Linked DNA regions of Homo sapiens: region 1 is linked to region 2. The links are contacts of gene promoters, found by promoter capture Hi-C in human tissues and cell types (Jung and others, 2019). All regions are on one chromosome and are shown on one strand. The core of a region is centred on a gene start or on the middle of the fragment in contact, and the rest is flanking DNA. Distances in the headings are between cores, read along the strand shown.

What was found. Contacts are between HindIII fragments. The study calls those that stand out against the background at their distance.
Region 1: a contact is called between the fragment with the promoter of SLC25A47 here and the fragment with the promoter of CYP46A1 in region 2, in 1 of the 25 tissues and cell types used here (adrenal gland).

Annotation. Positions count from the first base shown.
Region 1 is chr14:100,320,923-100,325,410 of GRCh38, reverse strand. It overlaps SLC25A47 (solute carrier family 25 member 47), which reads right to left and starts at 2,072. Exons shown (of 6, transcript NM_207117.4): 1 at 1,969-2,072. The coding sequence starts at 1,996. The HindIII fragment of the contact is 19,339 bases long and covers 1-4,488 here.
Region 2 is chr14:99,681,158-99,685,748 of GRCh38, reverse strand. It overlaps CYP46A1 (cytochrome P450 family 46 subfamily A member 1), which reads right to left and starts at 1,451. Exons shown (of 15, transcript NM_006668.2): 1 at 1,213-1,451. The coding sequence starts at 1,331. RefSeq lists a silencer at 1,067-1,646 and an enhancer at 2,887-2,956. The HindIII fragment of the contact is 8,159 bases long and covers 1-4,591 here.

The DNA of each region.
Region 1 (4,488 bases), core at 823-3,322, 640 kb before region 2:
CTTGCCCTCAAGCCGTCAGCCCATGGAGGGTTTGCCTGTGAGCCAGGCGGTAACTGTGTTTTGGCTGCGTGGGTGGAAGGAGGGGGAGGCACAGCCTGGGCAAAGGCCAGGAGGAGGGAAGCCGAAGCCCACACCGGGGTTCGTGAAGAGCCAGGACTGCCTGGAACCACAAGCGTGTGTGGAAGAGAGAGGGCCGGGAGTCCACACCTTGCAGAGAGGCCTCGGGTGCCAGGCCTCAACATCCAAGCCCCAGCACTGCCACAGGGAAGTCAGAGGGGAAACAGGGTGGTCCCTGGGAGGACCATTCTCTCCCCTGAGGGGAGGTGGTAAAGGCCAATGGAAGAAAATAGGCACATGGGGACTGTACCCTATTCACTGTAGCCCAGGACTCAGTAAATATGTGGGATGAAAGAATGAAGTGAATAAATGTAAGGCAAAAGACCAAGTGGCTTGGAGAGAACGACCCTTCTTAACCCTCCCATACACCTCACACACCTCACCAGGCTCCTACTCATCCATCAAAGCCCTGCCACGACACTACCTCCTCTCTGGAGCCCTCTCTGGCCTCTGTACTCTGGGCTGCCTCTGTGCCTGGAACATGTTGAGCAGAGCCCTTGTCATATGGCCTTGCTGTTGTATGCCACCGCCACCTCCAGAACTGGAGTTCTCCAAGGACACGGCCGAGGGCTGACACCCCATGACCCAGGGCCAGGCACAGAGTGAGAGCCCTTTACCTAGGCCTCCTCATGGCTCCGGAGGAAAGATGCCAGACTCAGGAGCCCTTTCCAGCTGTGTGATGTCAGGCAAGTCCAGTAGCTTCCCTGAGGAAGGGAGCGGCTGGCCCCAGGCTGGCACCTAGCTGGGGCTGAGAAAGGCTGCTAATGGAGGCCGGGCGCAGTGGCTCACGCCTGTAATCCCAGCACTTTGGGAGGCTGAGGCGTGCGGATCGCTTGAGGTCAGGAGTTTGAGACCAGCCTGACCAACATGGTAAAACCCTGCCTCTACTAAAAACCCAAAAATTAGCCAGACATTGTGGTGCATGTCTGTAATCCCAGCTACTTGGGCGGCTGAGGCAGGAGAATCACTTGAACCCAGGAGGCAGAGGTTGCAGTGAGCCAAGATCACGCCAGTGCATTTCAGCCTAGGCGACAGAACAAGACTCCATCTCAAGGGAAAAAAAAAAGAAAAAGCCTGTTAATGGGGCAGGTACTCTGCCTTCTCCCAGGGCCAGAGCTGGGCCGCTCTCCCAACCCCCATGCTGTTTCCAGAAGTACTGACGCCACCCACCGATGTTTCACAAGACCAGCAAGGGCAGGAGTGCCCACTCAGAACAGCCCCCACAGCCCACGGGATGGAGCTGAGCCCGTGTCCCAGGGCCTGGTTATCTCCCTGAATCAGTCTTTCACCAGGAGCCCTTCCCCAGGAGGGAGAACGGTTTCTCCAGCAGAGTCTGGCCTGAGAAGCAGGCTCTGGAGGCCTAGCCAGGTGCACACACCCAGCAGGGCAGGTGGAGCCACCTCGCCAGGCCCCTTACCGTCCTCTGCCCGCCCCTTCCAGTCCCTGCTGCAGGACCAGGCCCATCTTCCCTACCCATCTCCCCACCCTCTCGATCCTCTCCTGGGGTCTTCTTTCCCTTCCAGTGACTCAATCACCCCTCCCCACACCAAGGACTCCCAGCCTCCCTGACTCTGCCTCCCGAGCGGCCCCCATGCCTAGACCACAGCCCCATCCCCAGCCTGCCCTCAGCCTCCTGTCTGAGCCTCCCAGGCCAGTGCAGCCCCCCAGGCCCTGCAGCACCCCTCACCCAGCCTTAGCCTCCCAGGAACCTGCTCTCTGCTCCTGGCAGATCCTGGGGGGTGAGGGGCTCCTCAAAGCCCACCCTGCTGCCCAGCACCTTCCTGGACCTCAGTTCCTCCTGCTACCCCCAGGAGCAGCAGTGTCTGCACAGCCCACCATCCTGTCTGTTACCTCCGATGGCTCCAGCGACAAAATCCATGAACAAGGTGTGGCGGGGAGGCCCTGGGTCTGCCTGCCTGAGAGGGCTTTGGTGCCACCAGGGTGGCCTCAACAGCTCCCAGCTGGCCCCTCTCAGACCTTAAATACCTGCGGCAGGGGAGGGGACCGGAAGCAGAGCCTGCTGAGGCCACGCGGCACACAGCTGGACTCCCTCCCTGCCCCCGGGACCCTTGTCCCAGTGCCCTCGGGACCCAGGTGTCAGGAAAACACAGGAGAGAGCACGGGAGGTGACAGGCACCAGAGAGCAGGGGCACTGCCCCATCACATCCAAACACCTCCTGGGAAGGTCCAGAGATGGGGCTGTGACAGCTCTCGCCCTCCAGGTCCAAGCCCAGGCCTTCACTGTGTCCCCTGGGCTTTCCCGACTCCCCTGGATTTGCTCAGGACCCCTGCCTGGGAAACCTGCAAAGCTCCCTCTCTTACTCACTCAAAAAACACTTACTTTGCTGATGCTACACCCAGGCAAATGAGAGCCAGTCCCTGTCCTCAAGGAGCTCCAGTTGGCAGGGAGGGAGGGGGTGGCAAGGACAGGCCTGAACCCAGGAACAGCACCCACCATCTGCTCTCACCCTTCCCGCTGCCCCGGTTCCCTGCTCTCTGCTCCATGGGAATGTGTCTCCCTGGACCCAGAGGCGAAGGCCAAGGCTGCCTCCACCAAGTCCCCCTGCCCACATGAACCAGGGACAGAGGCTGCCGATTCAGCCTCTGAACCAGCGGCTGGGGCCCTCCTGAAGGGGAAACCTCTCCACTAAGACGCTACTTCTGTCTGCTGGGCACTGTAAAAACAGGGACCTCCTTGCCCGTGCACCCCACCTTACAGTTCACCAAGCTCCCCTCACTCTCAGGCTCTAGGATCCTCCTCACCGCCCCAGGAGGGAGACAGCGCAGCGTTAGTGCTCCCCATTTCACAGATGGGGCCATTGAGGCCCAGAAAGGGGGCTTGTCCAAGGCCACGAGGGCGGCAGGGCTGGATGTGATCCCCAGATGCTCTCATACAACCCACCCTCTGGGATATCCAGGCCCGCCTGGGGAGGCCCCAGAGGGCTCTCAAGGGGACTCAGTGCATGCCCCATGTGACCTGCACTGCATCCTTGTGAGATCTCCACGTGAGACACCAAGGCTCAGGGAGGCTGTGCAGGTACCTCGGCCACACAGCTGCTGAGCAACAGAATCTAAGTGAGTGCCCCACAGACTGGAATGCCAGCAGGATAGGGGAGGGGCAGGTGTTGATGCATGAGGCCCAGGCAGCCCATCTGGGCAGCCCTCGGGACAGGTGGCAAGGCCAGGAGGCTCTTTGTCTACCTGTTTTCCTGTCCTCTAATGGCTGGACCTGCAGGCTGGCCTTGAGCAGGCTGAGAGCTGATGGAGGGACAGCCCCCCTGCCAGCCCGGCTATTTATAGGCAAGTGGGAGACACAGGATGAGCAGTGCCAGCTGCCACGGCAGAGGGCAAAGGGCGGGAAGTGGCCCATCCAAGGCCAGTCCCAATGCTAGTCCTGGCCCTCAAGGGGATGAAGCTTAGCATCTGGTTAGAAGCTGGCTGCCTGCCTTTAAAGCCCAGCTCTGCCACTCACAGCTGAGACCGTGGGCCAGCCCCTTGACCACTCTGTGCCTCAGCTTCTGCATCCATGAAATGAAGAGAGTACCTGCCTCATATCTGCGACCACGCAGGGCAAAGTCCGGGCGTGTCCCTGTGAGAGTGGCCAGCTAAATGCTAATGCTGCATTAACAGAAGCATAGAGTCTGGAAGGAAGGAGGTGGCTGGCCTGTTCTGGGCAGGGCAAATACAGCTGAGACTTGGGTTTGATTGCTGATGCTGCACTCAAGAAGCCAGTACCTTGGGTGCTGAGGGAGTTTGAAGCACTGTGTCTAACTGAAAGAACAGGGACCATTCAGATCCATGTTTCCTGTAGAGCATCCAATGCAGCAAGTGCCACCCACCCATAGCACCTGAGCCAGAAGCCCAGGAATTGCCCTGGACACCTCTCTCTCTCCACCCCACATCCAGAGTCCCCAGTCCTGTGTGTCAACCTCTTAAATTCACGTTCAGCTCCCTTCACCACTGTCCATCTGCACGGCCTCAGCCGCGTCATCATCCCGTGGACCGCAGCCCGCCCCGCCCATGCCCTCTACTCATGAAACCAAGGCTGCCTGTCGAGTTTTAGGCACGGGGACACATCAGTAAACACAACGGATAAAAGCCCTTGCCCTGGGCTGGGCACGGTGGCTCACGCCCATAATCCTGGCACTTTGGGAGGCTGAGACGGGCAGATCACAAGGTCAGGAGTTCAAGACCAGCCTGGCCAACATGGTGAAACCCCGTCTCTACTAAAAATACAAAAATTAGCCAGGCGTGGTGGTGGACACCTGTAGTCTCAGCTACTTGGGAGGCTGAGGCAGGAGAATTGCTTGAACCCGGGAGGCTGAGGTTGCAGTGAGCCGAGATTGGGCCACTGCACTCCAGCCTGGGAGA
Region 2 (4,591 bases), core at 202-2,701:
CCTGAACCCATCAAGCAGAGATTCAGGCTTCTAACGCCAGTACATCTGGCTTGTGCTGGAGATGGGTGCCTTCCAGAATATTCATGTCCTGAGATTTTAAAAAGTGTGTCTAATACAATTGTTTATTCATTCATTCAACAAATATTTATTGAGATCTGCAACACGCCAGGCACTGGGGATACACAAGCGAACACAGAGTGTCCCTGTCCTCCCGGGGCTCACATTCTAGAGGGGGAGACAGTCAACAGGTGAACAGACAGTCAACAGGTGGAAAGAAGGTAACCTCAGAGGTGATGGCCCCTGAGAAGTCTGGGGCTGGGTGGTCTTTACACAAGGTGCTGGGCAAGGCCTGTTTGAGACAAGCAGAGGAAGAAGCCCGCCAGGCCCAGGCTTGAGAAAAGGACCCGGGGGGAGGGAAGCTGCGGGGGGGGCGGGGGGAGGGGGAGGCTGGGAGAAGAAAGGCTGGGGGCAGTAGTGAGAAAGCAAGAGGAAAGAGCAAGCTGCAGAGTGGGTTCTGAGTGCTCGGCAGGGGCCTCGCGGGCCATGCAGCCGACTTAATTTAGAACTGCATTTAGTTGTCAAGTGATGGGAAGCCCTTGGAGCAGGGAAATGACACATTTAATTTAAGCTTCACAAAGCTAAGCTGGGGGTGGGGGGGGGTTGGCAAGTTGAGGGGGGTGTAAGTTGCGTGGGGGTGGGGACCAAGAATGCAATTGTAAGTACTAAGGAGAAGACAAATGGGGTGTCCCAGAACAGAAATACAAGCAAAAGGAAACATGACTGAAGTACAGCGTGCTCCAATCCAGGCTGACCCTGTCCAAGTCCCAAAGTTAACAGCGCCCACTTTGGAGGCAGGCTGACCTGGGCTTAAATCTAGGCTTACCAACCGTGTGACCTTGGGCAGGTGACTTCGCCTCTGAGCGCCTCAGTCTCCTCGTCTGAACGATGGGTTAACAATAGCGCCTACCTGAAAGGGCTGTGGCTGCCATCACGTTTGTGGGGCCCAGCTGTGCGCGGTGGGCGCCCAGCAGCTGCTGCGGCTGTGAGTAATTTGTTACTAAGAATAGTTAGCGCCCCTCTCGGGGCCGCCGACTCCCAGCGGCCGCGCGCACTAGGCGAGGCCGGACCCCCGGCCTGGACGCCGGCTTAGACGCTGTCCCCAGGCCCCCAGTCCCAGCACCCCAGCCAGGCCCCGCCCCCAGCCCCGCTCACCTGGGCCGCGGCGGCCCGGGGATGTGCTCGTAGCGGCTGCGAGCGCGGTGCACGAAGGTGCAGCAGAGGCCGAAGGCGAGCAGGACGGCGCTGCCGAGCAGCAGCAGCCCGGGGCTCATGGCTCCGGGGCAGGGCAGGCCAGGCCAGGGTCGGGCCGGGCGCCGAGGGGGCCGGGAGGCCGCGAGCCGACTCAGCTGTCAGCGCCGCGCGCCGCCTCGGCCCCAGGCCAGGCGCGACCCAGCACCCTCCCCGCCCGCTCGGCTCCGCCCCCGCCGACTCCGACCCCTCCCAGGGCGCACAGTCCCCGCCAACCACGTCTCCGCCTCCGGCTCCGGCGCTCCGGGCCCTCCCCCGCCCCGCCCCGCCCCCCAGAGCTCCGCCCCAACCTCCACACCGCCCCAGCCCAGGCCCCACCCCGAGCATGTGGTCTTCACCAATCACAACTCCGCTTCTGGCTCAGCCCCCCAGGCTCCGCCCCCACCTCTTCAGACTCAGGTCCGCCCCAGCAGCAGCTCCGCCCAGAACGCGTTGTCCCTGGCAACGCCGATCCTCAGCGCTCTGGCCCGGCGGCGGCGCGAAGTCCTGCTGGCTGGCTCCGCCCGCTTCGGCGCCTCCAAATAACGGCATCTTTCCGCGCGCGGTCTTAGGCCCCTTCCTTTTTCCCCCAAACCTGCCCGGAAACCCCATCCCAGCCTGCAAAAGTCCGCATAACGCCGACTGTTCCCAAACTTCTCCTTGGAACCCCAGACCCCCAAAGTTGTTCTCCAGTTGCCCCGGGGCGCCTCCTCCGCCCGGACAGTCCACGCCTAGCGCCCGTGGTCCGCCAGCGGGGCCCGCGGGCTGGTGGCAGGATCCTGCGGGACCCAGGGACGCCTGTGTCTGCGACCGAGAGCGCACGGCGTGGCCGGAGGCTGTTCTCCCAGAGACTCGGGGGCCTGCGGACCCTCCTAGACCAGGCGAAGCCCCATCTGAGGCGCTGGCTCAGGCCCGAAGGAGTTGGAGTTGGAGGGATGAAAATCTGGGTCCGCCCTCCAGGGAAAGCGGGAAATGTGCCGGGGAGGCGGGGGTAGCGGAGGAGAAGGTATTTTCGAAATAATGACCAGGGCTTCCCCCTCTGTCGTAACCCGCGTCTCCTTGCCCATCCCGTATGAAGATGAGGCCAATTCTGGGCGTTTTAGTTCCCAATTCCTATCCCGAGGGACCACCCAGCGTGAAAGTCGTGGCAGGGGAAGGCCAGGTGTGCCCACTCCTAGCCCAGGTAAAGGTCCCCCGGGCTGGAGGTAGAGGCCCAGGGAGTGTAGATGCTGCTGGGTTTCTGAGAAGAGGCAATGCCCCTGCCCCACGCTTGAGCCAGTCCTGGAGAGGTTGGGGGTTGGAAAACGAAGGGGACCTTGGTACCGCCTTCCCAGGTATAGTTAGGGACATGGGACATGGCTGTTAGGGGTGTGGGCTGAGGGGCGACGGAGACGGCCAAGTCTTAAGAGCCGTGCCCAGCACGGAGGAGGCGGGACTTCTGCCCTCGGGGCCACCGCAGCCTGGACAGGTGGGCAGCAGAGCATCCATCCCCCCGGCGCCTGGCCCGGCCGCCCAGTTGGACTCGGGGATGTTGGCTTGCTATGGCGCCCCCGTGTGGCGGCGGTGACAGGCAGCCGCAGGCCCACAGGGTAACTCAGGCTGGCCCTGCTGGGGTGAGGTGTGGAACGGAGCCACCAGGTCCCCTGTGGGCTGTGAAAGCTCCGGGGCTTGAGGGCAATTTGGAGGGAGGATGAGGCTGCAAGAAGGAGGGTGTGGATTCCTGCGCACTGGAAGGTGGGTTGGGGTGGTTAGCTAGAAAAGAAATGTGACGGCATCACATTTAGTATCCAGTTTGTGGAACGGCTCCCTGAGATTACACAGTGCATCGCACTGTCTGAAGAGGACTTTCTCTTGCCTTGTCTCTCCAGACCCCTGGAACAATGGTACTGTTAGCAACAGCAAATCCATATGGGTCTGCAGCAGCCTCAGTTCTTGCCTCCTCAGAAGAAAGAATTCGACTGAGGGGCGTAAGGCAGAGTGAGAGGCAAGTTTTAGAGCAGGAGTGAAAATGTATTTAAAAGTTTTAGAGGCCGGGCGCAGTGGCTCACGCCTGTAATCCCAGCACTTTGGGAGGCCGAGGCGGGCGGATCACGAGGTCAGGAGATCGAGACCATCCTGGCTAACACGGAGAAACCCCATCTCTACTAAAAATACAAAAAATTAGCTGGGCGTGGTGGCGGGCGCCTGTAGTCCCAGCTACTGGGGAGGCTGAGGCAGGAGAATGGCGTGAACCCGGGAGGCGGAGCTTGCAGTGAGCCGAGATTGCGCCACTGCACTCCAGCCTGGGTGACAGAGCGAGACTCCGTCTCAGAAAAAAAAAAAAAAAAAAAAAAAAAAAAAGTTTTGGAGTAGGCATGAAAGGAAGTAAAGTATACTTAGAAGAGGGCCAAGCAGGTGACTTGAGAGAGGCAAGTGTGTGGCTTGACCTTTGACTCGGGGTTTTGTAGGTTGGCATGCTCCCGGGGGGTTGCATCTCTCTTCGCCCCTGATTCTTCCCTTGGGGCGGGCTGTCTGCGTGCGCGGTGGCCTGTCAGCACCTGGGAGGGGCCGAATGCACAGCTGTGTTTACTGAAGTTATGTGCGCGCTCATTTGAGGTGTTTTTCCCTTACCGGTGTTCCTAGAGGAAGGTCATCTACCAGTTAATCGCTGCCATTTTGCCTCTTAGTGTGCATGCTTGAGCCCACTCGCCCAGCTCCTGAGATCTTATCGGGAAGCTGATCACCAGCTTCAGGTGTTTCCATCTGTTGGGAGACTGCCTCTCCCTGGCACTGGCTGCGACCAATTATTATTTGAGAGAAGCAGTTTATCAACTGCCTGACCATCATCTGATGGCCACTTGACATTCCTCGTTGGGGGAGGGCCCTCTCCTGCCCTGCTCATGTCTGCCTGACTACCTACTGTCACAGTTCCTTGAGGGAAGAGCCAGGTCCTGAACAGCTCCAGGCACAGCCTGGAGCCCCACAGAAAGCAGGTGTAGAGCAGCATCAGGGAGCAGTGGTCAGCGTGAACCTCTCCAAATACGGCTAAGGAGAGGAGTGGGCATACGTCTTCTCTGACACATCGGGCAGCACCAGTGATCTCTGGCTCAACATGACCATGGCTTACCCCAGGAGCAGCACTTCCAGAGCAGTTGCCGTTCCCATCTGTGAGCCAACAGTCTCCCCTCTCCCTAGGCACCAAGCCCACAGCTGTCCCATCACCACCTCATTTGATGCTCCCAGCTATCCTGTGATCAGGTAAGGGAACACAGGCTGCATACCAAGGCTCCAGGTCCCAGGGCTGAAAGCCCTTTTCCTGGGTGGG